Linked DNA regions of Homo sapiens: regions 1, 2, 3 and 5 are each linked to region 4. Evidence: promoter capture Hi-C in 16 types of primary human blood cells and fetal thymus (Javierre and others, 2016). All regions are on one chromosome and are shown on one strand. Each heading gives the region's core, a stretch centred on a gene start or on the middle of the fragment in contact. The rest is flanking DNA. Distances are from core to core; before and after follow the strand shown. Region 1 overlaps LRIG1 (leucine rich repeats and immunoglobulin like domains 1). Region 2 overlaps LRIG1 (leucine rich repeats and immunoglobulin like domains 1). Region 3 overlaps SLC25A26 (solute carrier family 25 member 26). Region 4 holds the start of TMF1 (TATA element modulatory factor 1). Region 5 has its middle 19 kb from the start of KBTBD8.

Region 1 (3,198 bases), core at 251-2,750, 2.6 Mb before region 4:
AACTTCTGTCAAGAAGTTCCAGACCACTAACTGTTCCTCCAACTTCATTGCATTTTAGTTGTATCCCCAAACAAAACTCCAAATTCCAAGAATTTGTTCCGGAAAACAATAATAAAAATAAAAATAAATTTTAAATCCGGAAGTTTCGTTTTATGAAAATTTACACGATAAAGAATGAGTGGAAGGAAAAGAAAAGCCCAAGAATTTCCACTGAAGGCACTAACAAATTCCACGTCGAAGAAAAGTGGACATCCAGAACAAAGAAAATAAAAGCTTCTAGATTCTCCATGAAAAGTATTTTAAGGAGTCCAATTACTGTCATAATTTTCAAGATTTTCAAAAACAGTGTAACTAAGAGGTAACCAATGCAAACCTAGGTAGATGGGTAAATTTAATATGAATTTGGCCAAAAACAGAGTCAGACTTCAAAATTAGAAAAAGCCACAGCCGGGCGTGGTGGCTCACATCTGTAATCCTAGCACTTTGGGACGCTGAGGTGGATGGATCACTTGAGGTCAGTCATGAGTTCAAAACCAGCCTGGCCAACATGGTAAAACCCTGTCTCTACTAAAAAAAAACAAAAAAAAAAAAATTAGCCTGGCTTGGTGGCAGGCGCCTGTAATCCCAGCTCTTTGGGAGGCTGAGGCAAGAGAATCACTTGAGCCAGGAAGGCAGAGGTTGCAGTCAGCTGAGATCACACCACTGCACGCCAACCTGGGCGACAGAGTGAGACTCTGCCTCAAAAAAGAAAAAGGAAGCCACTAGGCTGTACATGTTAATTGGCTGAGTTTCTATCTTGAAAGGGATACACGAAAGATCTCCCTGGTAAAAGGGATGGCAAGCTGGCCCAGAAAGAACAGGCAGTGCAGTGAGTAGCTGCCCTTCCTGTGGCCATGACTATAGAATGTGACAGGTGGCCCATCCAGTCCTTAAAGGCAGTTTCTCAGCATCATTTACAACTTCACTTATGGCAAGTATTCACTGAAGGACTGCCTGAGAAAGATGCTGCCTGCAGTGGCCCTGAGAAAGGACCCTTTGGGAAAACATGCCTGTAATTTATTTTCCTGGTTTTTTTTCTTTAAATTTTTACCTAAGTTCTTAAAATTCTAAATCAAAGATCGAAAGTGGATCTGTACCAGCCTCCACAGTTTTCTTTGGGCCAGAGGGGAAAAGGAGGTAAAAATGAAGGAAAGCACCACTTTCTTTGTGGAGTATTCACTCCTCCTCAATAATATCTCAAGGCTCACAAAAGGGTCCCTCATTGAGACTCTGCATGCACATACCCTTTTTTCTCTTTGCTGCTTATGGTATCCATCTGAGAATTTCACTCAGAAGTAGCAAACATTGGCCTAGCATGGTAGCTCACATCTGTAACCCCAGCACTTTGGGAGGCCAAGGCAGGAGGATCACTTGAGCCCAGGAGATCAAGACCAGTCTGGGCAACACAGCAAGATCCCATCTTCACAAAAAATAAAAACTAGCCAGGTGTGGTGGCACATGCCTGTAGTCCTAGCTACTCAGTAGACTGAGGTAGGAGGATCACTTGAGCCTGGGAGGTCACGGCTATAGTGAGCCATGATTGCGCCACTGCACTCCAACCTGGGTGACAGAGTGGGACCCTTTGTGTGTATGTGTGTGTGTGTGTGTGTGTGTGTGTCTAACACACACACAGAGAGAGAGAGAATGTTTAAGTATCCTAGATACAGATCAATTTAATTCTTACCATCCAATGAAATATAAGTTTACTCCCTTTTTGCTTCAATTAGAATAGAATCATGAACCTAAAAATGAGGGGTCTTAGAAATTATACATCCCTTTACAGACAGGAAATGAAGTGACTAGCCCAAGGTTATGCTGCCAATCAGTGGCAGAGCTGGGACGAAACCCCAACGTCTCCTGAGGCCCAGCCATGAGCTAGTTTCCCATTCTACCACATCCTCACTTTCATGACTTTAAGAAAATTAATTTTTTCCTCTCAGGTGAATCATTTTTATGCCTCTTTGGGCAAGCACCCCTTTAAGAAACTCCATGAAAACGTGGTCTCCTTTCTGTCCAGAAAGACATTCTGAGCACCACGACTTCACATAAAGTTTCTCCCAAGTAAATAATAAGGTCAGCCAATCTTTATTTTAGGATAGTAATGAAATGAATATAATTTACTCATTTCTAAGTATTGTTTCAAATGACCTTGTGAAAGAACCCAAAAATCTCCATAGAAGAGTCTCTGATTTTTCCATTGGGTAAAGCATAGCCCTGGATAAGGCCAAACCACCCAAAGCAAAGAGTCCTACACAGACTCCAAATCTGAGAAAACAATCAGAGGAATTTGGGATGAGGCAGATCTTAATAACTACAGGGCATGTCAGCTTGTTTTCTGGATCTCCCCTCCTCCAAGATGGAAGGAAACCCTGCTCCCTTCGAGCTGCAGCCTCTGCATCCATCACTTCATTGCATCAACAATTCACTTCCTGGAAGCAACGAGCTCTTCTGACTGTTTATAAGTTTTGCAAGCACTGGGAGCTTGTGTGCCAGAAACTCACACCAGCCCAGGTGGAGGGAGGAAACCACAGACACAGAGAAAAATTCTTCTTAATTAAAAATAAAACGAAAACTAAGACGGAGGCATGATGCTGGGTCAAGGTACCACCACACTGCTAAAACCAGATGAAAGAATGGTGTTCTCCTAATTTGCAGAACAGCACTTAATTTCATAGAATCTCTCAATACTAAGCTTTTCTGCCCCATAATTTAAAAAAAAAAAATGCATTGGAGCGTGCTTCCACTTTTCTAAACAGAGAACCCACTGTAAATGGTGTATAATCGGTTATCATATAAATTTAATTAAGCTTCACAGATCCACCAGTTTAACCTGACCATGTTGGACAGCTTTTAAGGCCACCGAACACTCCATAATCTACCTGGAATTTGATTTTCACAGATAGAAGATGGAAGTCATTCCAAAAACTAGGATAAAGTGAATGGAATTTGGAGGACTAGTAATTCCCACTCAGATTCCTAAATGAAGCTGCAGCTAGCAAAAAATCCATTCTAAAGAAGCCCCCTCACCAACAAAGTACCGGACTGAGGAGAAATTAAACTATGGACTTTTATAAAATAAAACAAACCATGCAGCAGCTACTTGGAGAACACATTTTCAAATCTGTGTGAAGTTTAAATCAAGCACAGAGGGTTCCAGGA
Region 2 (3,048 bases), core at 436-2,935, 2.6 Mb before region 4:
ACATAGTACACATCAAGCTCCAATGAAATCACCACATTATGTTCCCATGTTGTAAGGTTTTATAAAAGAGAATAAGACTTCGTTCAAATCCCAGAATATTAGATGTTCTTACCTTTTTTTGTATTGTGATGCTTCCCCTTGTTAACCAAAAACCACAACTGAACAAGCGGATAATGCACATTAAAGGCTTATATTAAGATGACAAAATTGTATCTTGAACTGGAATCATTCCTCTAGTATCCTATCCAAGGATCTCCACTCAGGAGAAGGTTCTGTACTTGCTGCTACCTCTCTTCAGTAAGCTAAGCAGCCACATATTCCCTATGGCAAAAGAACATATTCTGCAAATAATCAAATGAAAAAAATCACTCAGATCTCAACATGATACAAATAGCTCATTTTGTAAGCTTTTGGGCAGTTGTATCTCACAAAGTCAGTAATGAGTCACCAGTTATTTCCATTTCTGAAAATTTTACATAGACCATTATCTATGCAAATAAGGGAAACCTACAGTGACTCAAAATAGGAGATACTATATACATACAGCTATATATGGACCCAGACTCATTGCCTATTTTTACTCCTTAAAAATCAGCTATAATAATCAGTGTGGGCCTCTGAAGTCTAACGCCCGTGACGTTAACTGAGAGAAGAAACTCATGCCTACCTCTGTGATCCCATAAGGTCTTACATGTGCTTCTCGGCCTTACTAGTTCACACATGTCATCCTGGTCTGTAGCTAATTTGAGTACAAGTCTACATCTTTTCCCTCTAGCACCCAACAAATGTCAAATTTGACAAATATTTATTGTCTACAAGGTATACTGCACTGTGATAAACTGATAACAAATTAGGATAAGATCTAGTCTGTGACTTGAAGTGGTTTACAACCCACTGGTCAAGTTAAGACTCCTGGCCGGGTGTGGTGGTTCACGCCTATAAATCTCAGCACTTTCGGAGGCTAAAGTCGGGGAATCACTTTAGGCCTGGAATTTGAGACCAGCCTGGGCAACATAGTGAGACCCTGTCCCTACCAAAAAAAAAAAAAAAAAAAGAATACTGACCAAATAACACAGCCAAAGGCTCTGACACTTGCAAGCATTCTGTAATGGTAGATCAGTAGCTACAAATTGGTAGTTTGTGGGTACAAAGCTGGGCTGCAGGGAAACTTGCTTGTTTCTGACTGAACAGTGTTGGTAGAAACCTAAAGTTTTCACCAAAAACTAAAGTTTCAGCTTTTCTTGAAAATAATCGGAGGGCCAGCATTCCTAACAGAAACAATCAACTACATGCATTTACCAAGCATTCCAATGACCACAGACCTCACCACTCCTTATTGTCTCACCCATGCCCTCTTTATTCACCGGCAGTATCTTCCCAGCCCGAGATCTGAGTTTGTCATCCCTAGCATGGATAACATGAATGAAGGCCAGATGGCGTCCAGAGCAGGAAAGATCAGCTGTAATGAGAAACGTTTATTGAAAATGCAAGATTTCAGCTAAGCCTAGAAGAAGAGCATGTTTTTTTGAAGAGGAGTCCTGGGAAACGAGGCCAGAAAAGTAAAATAAGGAATGGAGGGCATGGAGTAAAATAAGCAAACAAAAAGGCCAAGAAGTCAGGACCTCCTAGAAAGGAAAGGGCAAGACACAAATGGTTTTACAGCAAAGTTGAGAAGAATAGCCCCATGCTGCCAGACCCACAACCCACCAGGCGGTTAAGTCAAGGGTTATATAAACCTTAGCAAACCCCAGTGCCAGGTCCCTCACGAACATTAATCTATGGGGCCATTAAAGTTGATTTCCATAAGAACAGAGTATCGCCTTGTTCATTTACTTAAAAGTTCTGAACTAGATAATCAAGAGGCCCAATTTGTTTTCTCACCATCACTGAAGGCAGTTAGCATTTGCTTTCTATACTACCCCTTAAAATGGGAGATTCTAGGATCTTTCCTACCAAAAATCTTAGTTTGGCCAAAAAGAAACAAAATAATTAGCTATAATGGGTTTTGTTTTGTTTTACTTTAAGCAGTCTCATCTTTAGTGCAGTTTAGTACTGAGGAAAGCCCACAAATTTCCCATAATAGTCTCTTGTTAATATGGTATGTGCATCATTAACCCCTAAAGATTAATTAATTTAATTAAGAAGAGGCGCTCCAACACACCAGCTCTGCAGTTGGTGGGGACTTTACAAGCAAAAGGAATTTGGGCAGGGAATAGCTGCTGCCAGAGGCTGACCCTCCCACAGACCTGCCACAAAGGGAATATCACCATGGCCACCCCAGCAGGCAAGAGGTGCCTACAGCCACCATTTGGCTTTGCTATTAGAGAAGTGCTTTGCAGAGGCTTGGAAATGGGGAGCGGGAAGAGATGGGTCAGAAGTCTGGTCATTCAGGATCGCCTATTCTCTACTTTATCATCTCCAAAAAGAAACACTAATTCACTAACTTTCACATAGTCCTTAAGCTCTACAGGACTTGGCAAACTCATCACCTGCACAATAGCCCCCCTATCCTCACCCCATCCAGTAACAGAGCTGAATCTTTACCTCCTGGGAGCCCAGTCATTCTGCAGAACAGAGGGGGGTTGGAACCTTGGAGCCAGGTGCTCCCTGCTCCCACTGAACTCTTCCCCGAGGTGCCCTGACAGCCTAGGGCCCCAGCCGCTGCAGGGAGAGCAAAGGCTCATCCATCCCAACCAGCAGGGACGGAGGGCATGGCGGGGATGAAGGGCGGCCAGAGGTAAAACCCAGAGGTTCTCTCAGTTAAAGGATGGCAGAGGGTTCTCATAAATGAAAACCACGCTCTACTGCGGCAGAAAACGGAGACTTTTGCTTCTGGAGTACTGAAAACAAGTCAGGCAAAAGGGACAGGAAATATGGGATGGGTAAAACTGAGAAAAAGGACACATTAACCTGGTGGATACATTTGGAATCCCAGGTTCACCAAGTGCTTTGTAAAGTCCACCAAAGCTTCTCTGGTCACGGATTACTGTTTTCCTTTCCTAAAACTTCCACCTTTACCCCTCCACATCCGCCCCTGGCCCCTGCTAA
Region 3 (3,430 bases), core at 484-2,983, 2.8 Mb before region 4:
CTCTCTCAAGTTCAAAATTTCACAGATCTCTAGGGCAGGGGCAAAATGCTGCCAGTCTCTTTGCATAGCAAGAGTGGCCTTTACTCCAGTTACCAAGAAGTTCCTCATCTCCATCTGAGTCCACTTCAGCCTGGATTTTATTGTCCATCTCACTGTCAGCATTTTGGTCAAAGCCATTCAACAAGTCTCTAGGAAGTTCCAAACTTTCCCACATCTTCCTGTCTTCTGAGCCCTTCAAACTGTTCCAACCCCTGCTTGTTACCCATTCTGAAGTCGCTTCCACATTTTCAGGTATCTTTATAGTAGCACCCTACTGTGGGTACCAATTTCCTGTATTAGTCTGTTCTCACACTGCTGATAAAGACATACCCAAGACTGGGTAATTTATAAAGGGAAGAGGTTTAATGGACTAACAGTTCCACATGGCTGGCAGAGGGGCCTCACAATCATGGTAGAAGGCAAAGGAGGAGCAAAGTCACGTCTTACATGGCTGCAGATGAGAGCGTATGCAGGAGAACTCCCCTTTATGAGATCATCAGATCTTGTGAGACTTATTCACTATCACCAGAACAGAATGGGAAAGACCTGCCACCATGATTCAATTACCTCCCACCAGGCCCCTCCCACAACATGTGGGAATTATGGGAGCTACAATTCAAGATGAGATTTGGTTGGGGACCCAGAGCCAAACCATTTCATGTGCGTTCTTTTCTTTTTTTTTTGAGACAAGGTCTTCCTCTGTTGCCCAGGCTGGAGTGCAGTGGTGCTGTCTCTGCTCAAGTGATCCTCCCACCTCAGCCTCCTGAGTAGCTGGGACTAGAGGCATGCACCAACCACGCCTGGCTAATTTTTTAATTAAAAATTTTCTTGTTTTGTAGAGACAGGGTCTTGCTGTGTTGCCAGGGCTGGTTTTGAAGTACTGGCCTCAAGCAATCCTCCTGACTCAGCTTCAAAGTGCTGAGATTACAGGCATGAGCCACTGAGCCCAGCCCATGTTGTTCTTACAGTTTTTAGAAAATTTTTTTTGTAGAAAGAGGTGTCACAGGTATGAGCCACCACACCTGGCCCACCCTAAGAATTTTTGTCAAAACATTAAAAACGCTTTGGTTGTAATATATAGGGGAAAAATTGCAAAGCTGATGTTTATTTAGTACACTGTAATTAAAAACATTAGAAACATTAATAACTTAATTTTTTGGACAAAACCTTATCAACAGTAGTTTGAACATTTGCTTGTGTTCTCATTATGTATTATAGAAGAAGCATCTTTTTATGCCTTGGCAAGTTGTCATACTGCTTTCTCAGTTTGGATCAACTTCTAACATTTTATTTTTTGTGCTTTCAATGTTGTGAGTTCGTTTAATGCGAAGACTTGCTGACATAACTTAGTCTGGGACATTTTCATCCTTTTCATCACAACTACTTTCCTTATTTATGTTAAATTTGCTCTCACTTATTTTTTCTAGTTACTTATCTAGATTAATGACAGCAGTGTGAATATTTCCATGGCCAGCTGTTTGTTCTCTAATACCATTTATGTCTGATTTTTGTTTAACTTTGTGTTACCACTTTTCATTTTTTTTGCATTTTCATCTTTGTTCATCAGTTTTCTGTCTATTTTTATAAAATGTCGTGTGCATTTATTACTGGGAGATGAGGTAACAACTATTTGCTGTCTGTGCGTAAACTGAGTAATAGGCAGTGATTTCTGTTAATTGTATTGTGATTTGTGGACTGAACAAGTGGTGAAGTTTACACTTTATCCAGTTACTCATAGTTAATATGCTGTGGTAACTGAAATTTGACCTGGGTCATTGGGAGATTCATGTTATTTAAGTAAATCATGGTAACTGAAATTCATGTATGTAGGTACCATGCAAAGTGAGGACCGCTTGTAGTTTTTGTTTTCCTGTTTTTAGTGAGGTGATTTTTGGCTGGTGCTGTCATCTGGGGAGCTTTTTCGTGATACTTGGGTGTCTTCTCACTGGACCTGCCCTTCTGCTGAGAACCACCTTACAGGCAGTAGGATACTTGAGGGGAACAATGTGGGTTATGATGGCAGGGGTTCTTGGGTGGAGTGAAGAAAGGTAATACGAATGAAGTATTGGGTATACTATTAAAAGAGGTTTTCTGTTTTGTTGTTTTTCTTGTTTTGCCTCTTATCTTTTCTGGATAGTGACCTCCTAGTTTTCAATTTGGAGTAAAGGGCATCTTTAAAGATTATCTCCAAATTTATAAAAAATTGAGAATTATGCTTCTCTTTCTCAGGACTTGTGTGACTTGTTTATTTTTGGCATTTACGTCAGAGTGAGCAGGTCTTCCCTTTTTGCTTGCTTTTGTGTTGAGCAAGAAATTATCTAAACACAAGTATATTCCAAATTTTGCTCAGCCCGTGGAGCATGCAAAGCACTGCTTGGAGAGCACCAATCATGCAAGGACCACAACTGATAACCACCACTGTGATGGAGGCATTTTTTTGTGCATCTCTACTACCCACAGATGGGACTACCTTTCTTTTTTCATTTTTCTTTCTGTTTAAGAAAGGCATACTTGGAAAGTTTTAGTATTTGATAACTTAGCTGTAAGTGACTTGTTAATGTGGTTTTGTTACCACTTCCAAACCCTACTACTACATGTTGAAAGTTGCTCTAAATATTAAATCTTTTGTAATACAGACAAAATTTGGGTAACATTAATTAAATTCCAAATAAAGGAAAGATAAAAGTTACACCCACAGTTATCTCACCTCCCCAAATCAGGTGTCTTTTACATGCTTAACCAGATACATTTGTTGGCCTTTGCTGTGTTATTTGGGGTTGAATGCCTGAAAAATATGGTCCCCCACCTTCAGGGATTTAGAGTCTAGTAGGAGGCAGATGCTAAACGAAACTTAATTATATAATTCCAAGTGGTGGTAACACTTAACTGTTTACTGAGCACTTTAAAAGTGCTTATGCAACTTTTTCATAGCTGAGGTCATATAGGTATAATTTTATATTCTACTTTAAAAAATTAACATGTAAGTTTGAATTCAAGAATCATAAAGCAATTTGAACACTTATATTTCTCTTTAAGTTTTTGAAGTTGATGCTGAATGTTCCTGTCATGCATCACATGATTTGGTTTCTGTTGAGTCAGTTCACTGGGGATTCTTGTCCAGAGAGCAGAATTTGAGAAGAGCTTTTAATTCATTATTGCTAGTGAAAAACTTGAATTTACAGATTTTAATATATGAATTTGTCAGTTGAGTTGAATATAGGAATGTCATCTTCAGTGTTTGGTAAAGTACTCTTTAGGCTTTTGCGTGGTTTTTAGTATTTGCATGTCAGTATTGGTACCAGCAAACTTTGAAGGATGTTTATAGTAATATAATTCTAAAAATAGTAGTTTATTGATAATTGATTAAGGCCTAGGCATTTTGCTAACCATA
Region 4 (3,062 bases), core at 38-2,537:
TAATACCTCCGGCACATTCTAATCCTCCTCCGCCGTGTGACCTAGAGCAAGTTACTTGGCCATTCTGGGCCTCATTTTCCTCTTATGTAAAACACGGATATAAACCAAGCTCTCTCTGGGAGTTGTTCTGAAGATGAGAAGGCCATAAAAAAGCACATTACAGGCTCGTGCCTGTAATCCCAGCACTTTAGGAGGCCGAGGTGGGTGGATCGCCTTAAGTCAGGAGTTCCACCAGCCTGGCCAACATAGTGAAACCCCGTCCCTACTAAAAATACAAAAAGTTGCCGGGCGTGGTGGTGGGCGCCTGTAATCCCAGCTACTAGGGAGGCTGGGGAAGGAGAATCGCTAGAACCTGGGAGGCGGAGGTTGCAGTGAGCCGAGATCGCGCCACTGCACTCCAGCCTGGGCGACGGAGTGAGACTCCGTCTCAACAACAACATAAAACCACATTACGCGCTACCAAGCGCGAAATGTTCACTGACTGTTAGCGATTGTTCTTCCCTTCCCTGATGATTTACGTACTTCAGACCTTGGATCCCAACAGTGCCCGAGACGCGAAGCAATTCGAGGTTCAGGTTCGGGAAGGTTGTGCTTGGAAGCTGCGTCGAGGGAGAGCTTGAGGGCAAGACCAACCAACCAAGTCCCCTGTCATCCAAGTCCACAAGCCTCGCACCCAGGACCAAAGAAAGACAAGGGGGAACCTGGATCTGGGTTTTCCCTCAGGAAAACAGCAAAGACCGACTTGGAGGCTGAAGCAGCATTAGGGAACGGGCCGGGGAGAAATTACTTCCTGAAAACTCTCTCAGCAAGGAAGGACCCCTCTCTACACCACTTAACCTGCCTGCATCAAGAGAACAGCAGCCTCCGGGAGCCAGGAACCCCGCTCCTCTCTCTCTTACCCGGCTCTCCATACGGAATGGTCTCGGCCCAGATGCTCGGCTCCTCTTCCTGGATGTCCAGAACCCTGTCAATAGACTTCTGGGCCTGGGACAGGGCCTGCTTAGCGAAGCTGGAGAGCTGGGAGGCGTTGAACCAACTCATCGCCCCTCCTCAGCCGGCAGTGGCGGCGGCAGCACCAAGCGGGAAGGCCTCAGGCCTGGGGAAGGGTGCAGAGGAACGGCTTCGCTCCCCTTTTCCACTCGGCTGGTTCTGTCAGCGTGTGGCCATTACCCCGACAGCCTCCCGCGAGCCCGGGATGTTACCCTCGGCCGTTCCCGCACAGCTGAGACGAAGGGGGCCCATGTGCGCATGCGCTTGCTTCTTCCACGTACACAGCAACCAAATCTACGAGCCCAGAGTTCGGTCGACAGACGGAAGAACAGAAGAACGTTGACGTCACATCCGGGAGCGCAGGGTTGCCGTTAGTTACCGAGGAACGCGGAAGGGTTTCTATTGATGTCGATTTCGTGCTTACAGCAGTTCTTAGCGAAGGGGAAGCTATGGCTACCGATAGAGGTCGATTTCCCCGGAAGGAATATTCAAGTTTTCGTGTGTGTGCTTTCCAGGAAAATAGTTCACGTGCTAAAAGCTTGCACCTTGCCAGCAATAATTGCAAAGGGAAATTGGGCCTCACACTTCTCTTAGCCCTTTGTCTCAAATATTTAATAAGCTCTGTATTAACTTGGTATTGTAAGGAGAAACACTTGTTTGGGCTTGCCTAAAAGACAGGATCACGTATGAACACTGTGTCCAACTCGTGGAACACATGGTGCATAAAGCACAACCTCTCTCTCAAAATAGTAGTAAACTCATTGCTGCAGTCAAAATACCCCTAATACTGTGGTCTGTCGGTGTCCCCTGCACAAATTCCTATGTTGAAACCTAATCTCCAATGGGACAGTATTAAGGGGAGCCTTTAGGAGATGATTAGATGATGATGGAGCCCTCATAAATGGGGTTAGTGCCCTTATAAGAGAGGCCCAAGGGAGCTCACGGCAAGAAGGCACCAACTCTAAGCCAGAATAGCAGCCCTCACCAGACACCAAATCTGCCGGCTCCTTATCTTGGACTTCTCAGCCTCTAGAACTGTTAAGAAACAAATTGCTACTGCTTATAAGCCACCCAGTTTATGGCAATTTGTTACAGCAGTCCAAATGGACTAAGACACCTAGGAAGCACTAAAGCTGTTATCCTAACAATGTGCACTGTGCATATTACTTAAAACATAACCTTTTCTGTGTGCATTCTCTTCGAACATTTGGACATGGGAAAATACCTTAAATTGGTGGCCTTCCTAATCCAGTCTGCAGCTATATTTGGTTTGGGCCCAAGTTAAAGACAAAATCCTAACTAAAAGCCAGATTTCATTCAAAAATCTAGATTTCCAGCTGCTTTTGAAAAATATGAATACCAAGCATGGGAATAGTCAGCCAGAGTGGTCACCAAATAATTTTCACTCACTCCAGTTTGCCACAGACCCCTATCACTCATCCTATTACACCCTCCCTGCTGTGATTATTTACCTTATATGCCTGCCTCCCATATTTGAATATTTTACCCCACTGCAAGGAACTCTGCAAAAAAGAATTATTTTTCTTTTAAAAAATCAGATTGAACCCCTTAAGAAGTTATAATCATCTTCCAATAATTTTATCTAACTACAGTAAAAACTTGCATGTTAAAACTAACAATTTAGTCATGTACACAAGTAGTACCAAGTAACTCAAGTACTTTCAAACAGCTAAGTAGTCTGCAGAGGAGATTTGGGGCAGATTCGGGTTGAAATTAGCTGTACAGTTACAGTTCCAAGACTTCTAATTGTACAGCTTTGGTGAAATGACCTACCTAAACCATCTAAAACTATTTATTCAGCTCTCAGATAGAGTCACCTTCTTACAATGCTACTTTGAGAATTATTATAGCACCTATATGGTGCTAAATTTTAGTTCCTTCACTTTCAAAATTGTAAGCTACACCTGTAACTTTTCAGGTAGAGCTTATAAATTTATTCCGTATGGTTTTATAATAAAACTTATTTGTCAATATGTAGCTAGAAAGATTACTGAAAACTTAACTCAGTGACACATAAGTAACCAAAAAACATTTGAACAGAAAACTGCCAT
Region 5 (3,127 bases), core at 153-2,652, 2.0 Mb before region 4:
TTAAATAACAAACATCTATTTCTCCCAGTCCCGGAGTCTGGAAGTTTAAGATCAAGGTGCTGGCAGATCCTGTGTCTGGTGAGGGCCCTCTTCTCATCGCATCCTCTCATGGTGAAGAGCAGAGAAAGAGAAAGATAAAGCAAGCTCTCTAGTGTCTTTTTATAAAGGTACTAATCCCAGATCCCTCATGACCTAACCACCCGCAACGGCCCTACCTCCTAATACCATCACATTGGGGGTTAGGATTCCAGCACATGAATTTGGCGGAATTGGCAGAAACATTCAGTTCACAGCAGGATTTAACAGAGTTGCGGTCACATAGTTCAGTTCTTGAAACACATGCTTGCAAAATCCTTTAAGGATAAGAAGATAAGGTCAAAACATCTTATCCCAACACTTAGATTACGATGTCAAGTAGCCAAAGTTAAGTCTTGAGGAGCAAATGCCAACAGGAACCCACACAACGCAGGGGAGTATTTCCTTGTAATCAGTGAGAACCTGAGATAGTAAGAAATCCATGGTGCTCTCTGACAACTGTTCTTAAAGCTCAAGAGCTTGGTCAAGGTTAGCGATGGAACTTAGGAGTCTGGCATATCCACAGAGCTGGTTTTAGTTGAATTTGAGTTAATGGATGAGTTAGTGCAAAGATAAATTGTAAAATGAGAAGCGAAAGTAGCTAAGAATAAAATTTAAGAAATTCAGCTGAAGGAACAGAAGAAAGGCAACTGAAAAGTTATCAGAGAAGAAGGGAGAATCACAAAGGAGTAGTAATGCATGAGAAAACTTCAGGAATGAGATCCAAAGAGAAGAAATGAAATGCAGAGAGTAAGAGGCTCCTGGTCTAGCCATGTGAAGATCTGAAATGAGAAAGTGGTTTTAGCCAAGTGCAAGAGATGAAAACCAATTGCTGTGAATTAAGGTGCAGGTGGAGGATGTGAGTGGGTGTCAGTGGGTGAGAGTGCAGGTGCTTCCCCAGGAAGCCTGCAGGTGAGGAGATTCTGAGACGTGGAGGTGCTGGAGAAATAATATTTTTTTAAAAATCAGAACATTTAGGCCTTTTCAATAAAAATGGGAAATGAGAAATATCCTTGCAAAAAGTCAAAATCTTTTCCATTTCTAGACTATTCCCGGTTGAGAGTTCTGCAGTATACCCGTTAACCCCAAAAGTTAAAGAGATTAGGGATATGCAAAAACATGCAAAGAGGCAGGACTGATGAAAGACAAACCCCTAGAAATAGGAGCAGAGTGAAAAAAGAGAAAATCCTGACCCAGAGAGAGGTAGACACACTTTCTATAGCCTCTTACATTTCTGAAAAAGAATGAAAATAGTAAGAGTTTTTGCAACTTCTTGCTACTTTGCCCCAGAGCCAAATATGGTTCCCACCCCTGACCCAAAACATCTGGTTTGTGATAAGGGCTCAATTATCCTGTGCTTTCTAAAGTATGTGGTGGGTGTGGTGATGGCAGGAGTCAACAGGCAGAAGAATGGATGAGCTAATCAGAGCATGCATACGTGAAAGTAAAGAGGACAAGGGTCCTCTCACTTGGTGTTTGTGTAGCTGGAGATGACAGGGAGATGACACCTATCACTCAGGGGCCTGCCCCAGTGAGTGGGGAGTTTCATGGATCTCACCTCAAGTTGTACAAGTATATGTCCTGGGGCAATTTTGATTCACAATTTATAAAATCATGGTAGGATTTTATAATTTTATTTTATAACTTTACCCTATAGCTGCAGGCAGAAAAAAGAGGAGAGTAATTTTGATATGTGTATATAGGCTTTTTTTTCACTTTATATGAATTGTTTATTCATATCTTTTCCTCATTTTTCCTTTTTAAAATTTCATTTAAGTTCCGGGATACACGAGGTTTTTATATTCATATATAAATGTGATACACAGCAAAATACTTGCATCAGTATCTGTGTATCCTTCTTGAAGGTTTCTAAGAAATTGGTTATAATTTTCTTTTTAATCTACATTTTACTATTCCAAAAATTAAAATGCTATCCACACTTTACTGGGCACTGACCTGTGTGAGGTTGATTTCCATGGTAGCATGAAAAAATATATCTATCCTGTTTTGCATGACAAAACATATCTATCATACTTACATATATGATAACAACGACCCATGTGAAAAATAATATCTATGAGACACTGACTAATATCTTATTCTTGCATATCACTTTCTAGTTTTTGAAATGCTTTGGTATCTGTTATCTTTTTGGTTCCTACTACCGGTGCTGCAGCCATCTGTCATTGTCCCCCTTTTACTTTTGAAGAAACAAAGAAACAGAAAAGGAGTTGTTAAACTTAGGGATCAAACTTAGCTGTAAATGAAAGCAGACCTGTTAATTTCCTCCCACTCCCTAGTGAGCAGGGACCCAGGAAGATGGCCCGAATGGTTATATTCAAAGGCAGAACGTGGAGGTGCTGGGACTGCAGACCTTCTTGCTGGTCAAGGAGCCAGTTTGGGATGTAAAGTGAGTGAGTTCACTTTTGGAAGAGCTGAGTTTCAAGTGACAGAGGATCACTATGTATAGATTACTGTGCCGAGAAACAGCCAGGATGGGTGTGGAGACAGGAAACTGAATGAAGGTGATAGGTCAGGCGAAGATGTGGAGTTGGCAGTCACCCAAATACCGGTCAGCGCTCAAGGCACTTACAGAGGGAACGAGAAGAGCCCGGGTGAGAGCCAAGCGTCGGAGGGCCCACGTGAGGACTTAAGGAAGGGGAAGAGAGCATTTCAAAGAGCCAAGGACAGAGAGGTCCTGGGAGAAGCAGGAGCATAGCCTTGAGAAAGGAAAGAGGCTGCATGTGAAGGGAAAACTTGGTGTTCAGAATGAAGACGGCTCCTGAAAACTCAGTTCAACCTTTTGTTCATCAAATGTTCACTGTTAAGTGCAGGTTTTAAATTTGGACTCTGAAAAATGGTTTCTTCATATAGAATAGTGATATGAATGATTTCATTCACTGGAACATCTCACCGCCTAACCAGTGACTCAGAGGAACTTTCCTCTGTTAATGAGTGTGGCCTTCCTCTCCGCTCACCCTTCTGCACCTTGACACGGGACACTGCTCCTCTTCTGTGTCTGAGTCTGCTTGGATTTGAAGCTCCCCAAGGG

What was found. Contacts are between HindIII fragments. The CHiCAGO score rates a contact against its expected background, and 5 or more counts as called.
Region 1: a contact is called between a fragment that was not itself captured here and the fragment with the promoter of TMF1 in region 4, in 2 of 17 cell types (activated CD4 T cells and non-activated CD4 T cells). The highest score is 14.1, in activated CD4 T cells.
Region 2: a contact is called between a fragment that was not itself captured here and the fragment with the promoter of TMF1 in region 4, in 1 of 17 cell types (activated CD4 T cells). The highest score is 5.5, in activated CD4 T cells.
Region 3: a contact is called between a fragment that was not itself captured here and the fragment with the promoter of TMF1 in region 4, in 2 of 17 cell types (naive CD4 T cells and activated CD4 T cells). The highest score is 6.3, in naive CD4 T cells.
Region 5: a contact is called between a fragment that was not itself captured here and the fragment with the promoter of TMF1 in region 4, in 1 of 17 cell types (total B cells). The highest score is 8.3, in total B cells.

The regions. Positions count from the first base shown.
Region 1 is chr3:66,487,896-66,491,093 of GRCh38, forward strand. The region is part of intron 1 of LRIG1 (leucine rich repeats and immunoglobulin like domains 1); the gene reads right to left. Among named protein-coding and RNA genes, the nearest start is that of LRIG1, 12 kb to the right of the region's middle. The HindIII fragment of the contact is 2,458 bases long and covers 272-2,729 here.
Region 2 is chr3:66,468,873-66,471,920 of GRCh38, forward strand. The region is part of intron 1 of LRIG1 (leucine rich repeats and immunoglobulin like domains 1); the gene reads right to left. Among named protein-coding and RNA genes, the nearest start is that of LRIG1, 31 kb to the right of the region's middle. The HindIII fragment of the contact is 2,560 bases long and covers 406-2,965 here.
Region 3 is chr3:66,225,770-66,229,199 of GRCh38, forward strand. All of the region lies in intron 1 of SLC25A26 (solute carrier family 25 member 26), which reads left to right. Among named protein-coding and RNA genes, the nearest start is that of SLC25A26, 6.5 kb to the left of the region's middle. The HindIII fragment of the contact is 7,505 bases long and covers 1-3,430 here.
Region 4 is chr3:69,051,046-69,054,107 of GRCh38, forward strand. TMF1 (TATA element modulatory factor 1) reads right to left here and starts at 1,288. Exons shown (of 17, transcript NM_007114.3): 1 at 900-1,288. The coding sequence starts at 1,041. RefSeq lists an enhancer at 880-1,349. The HindIII fragment of the contact is 2,649 bases long and covers 1-1,526 here.
Region 5 is chr3:67,015,945-67,019,071 of GRCh38, forward strand. No RefSeq gene overlaps it. Among named protein-coding and RNA genes, the nearest start is that of KBTBD8, 19 kb to the left of the region's middle. RefSeq lists an enhancer at 2,450-2,499. The HindIII fragment of the contact is 5,097 bases long and covers 1-3,127 here.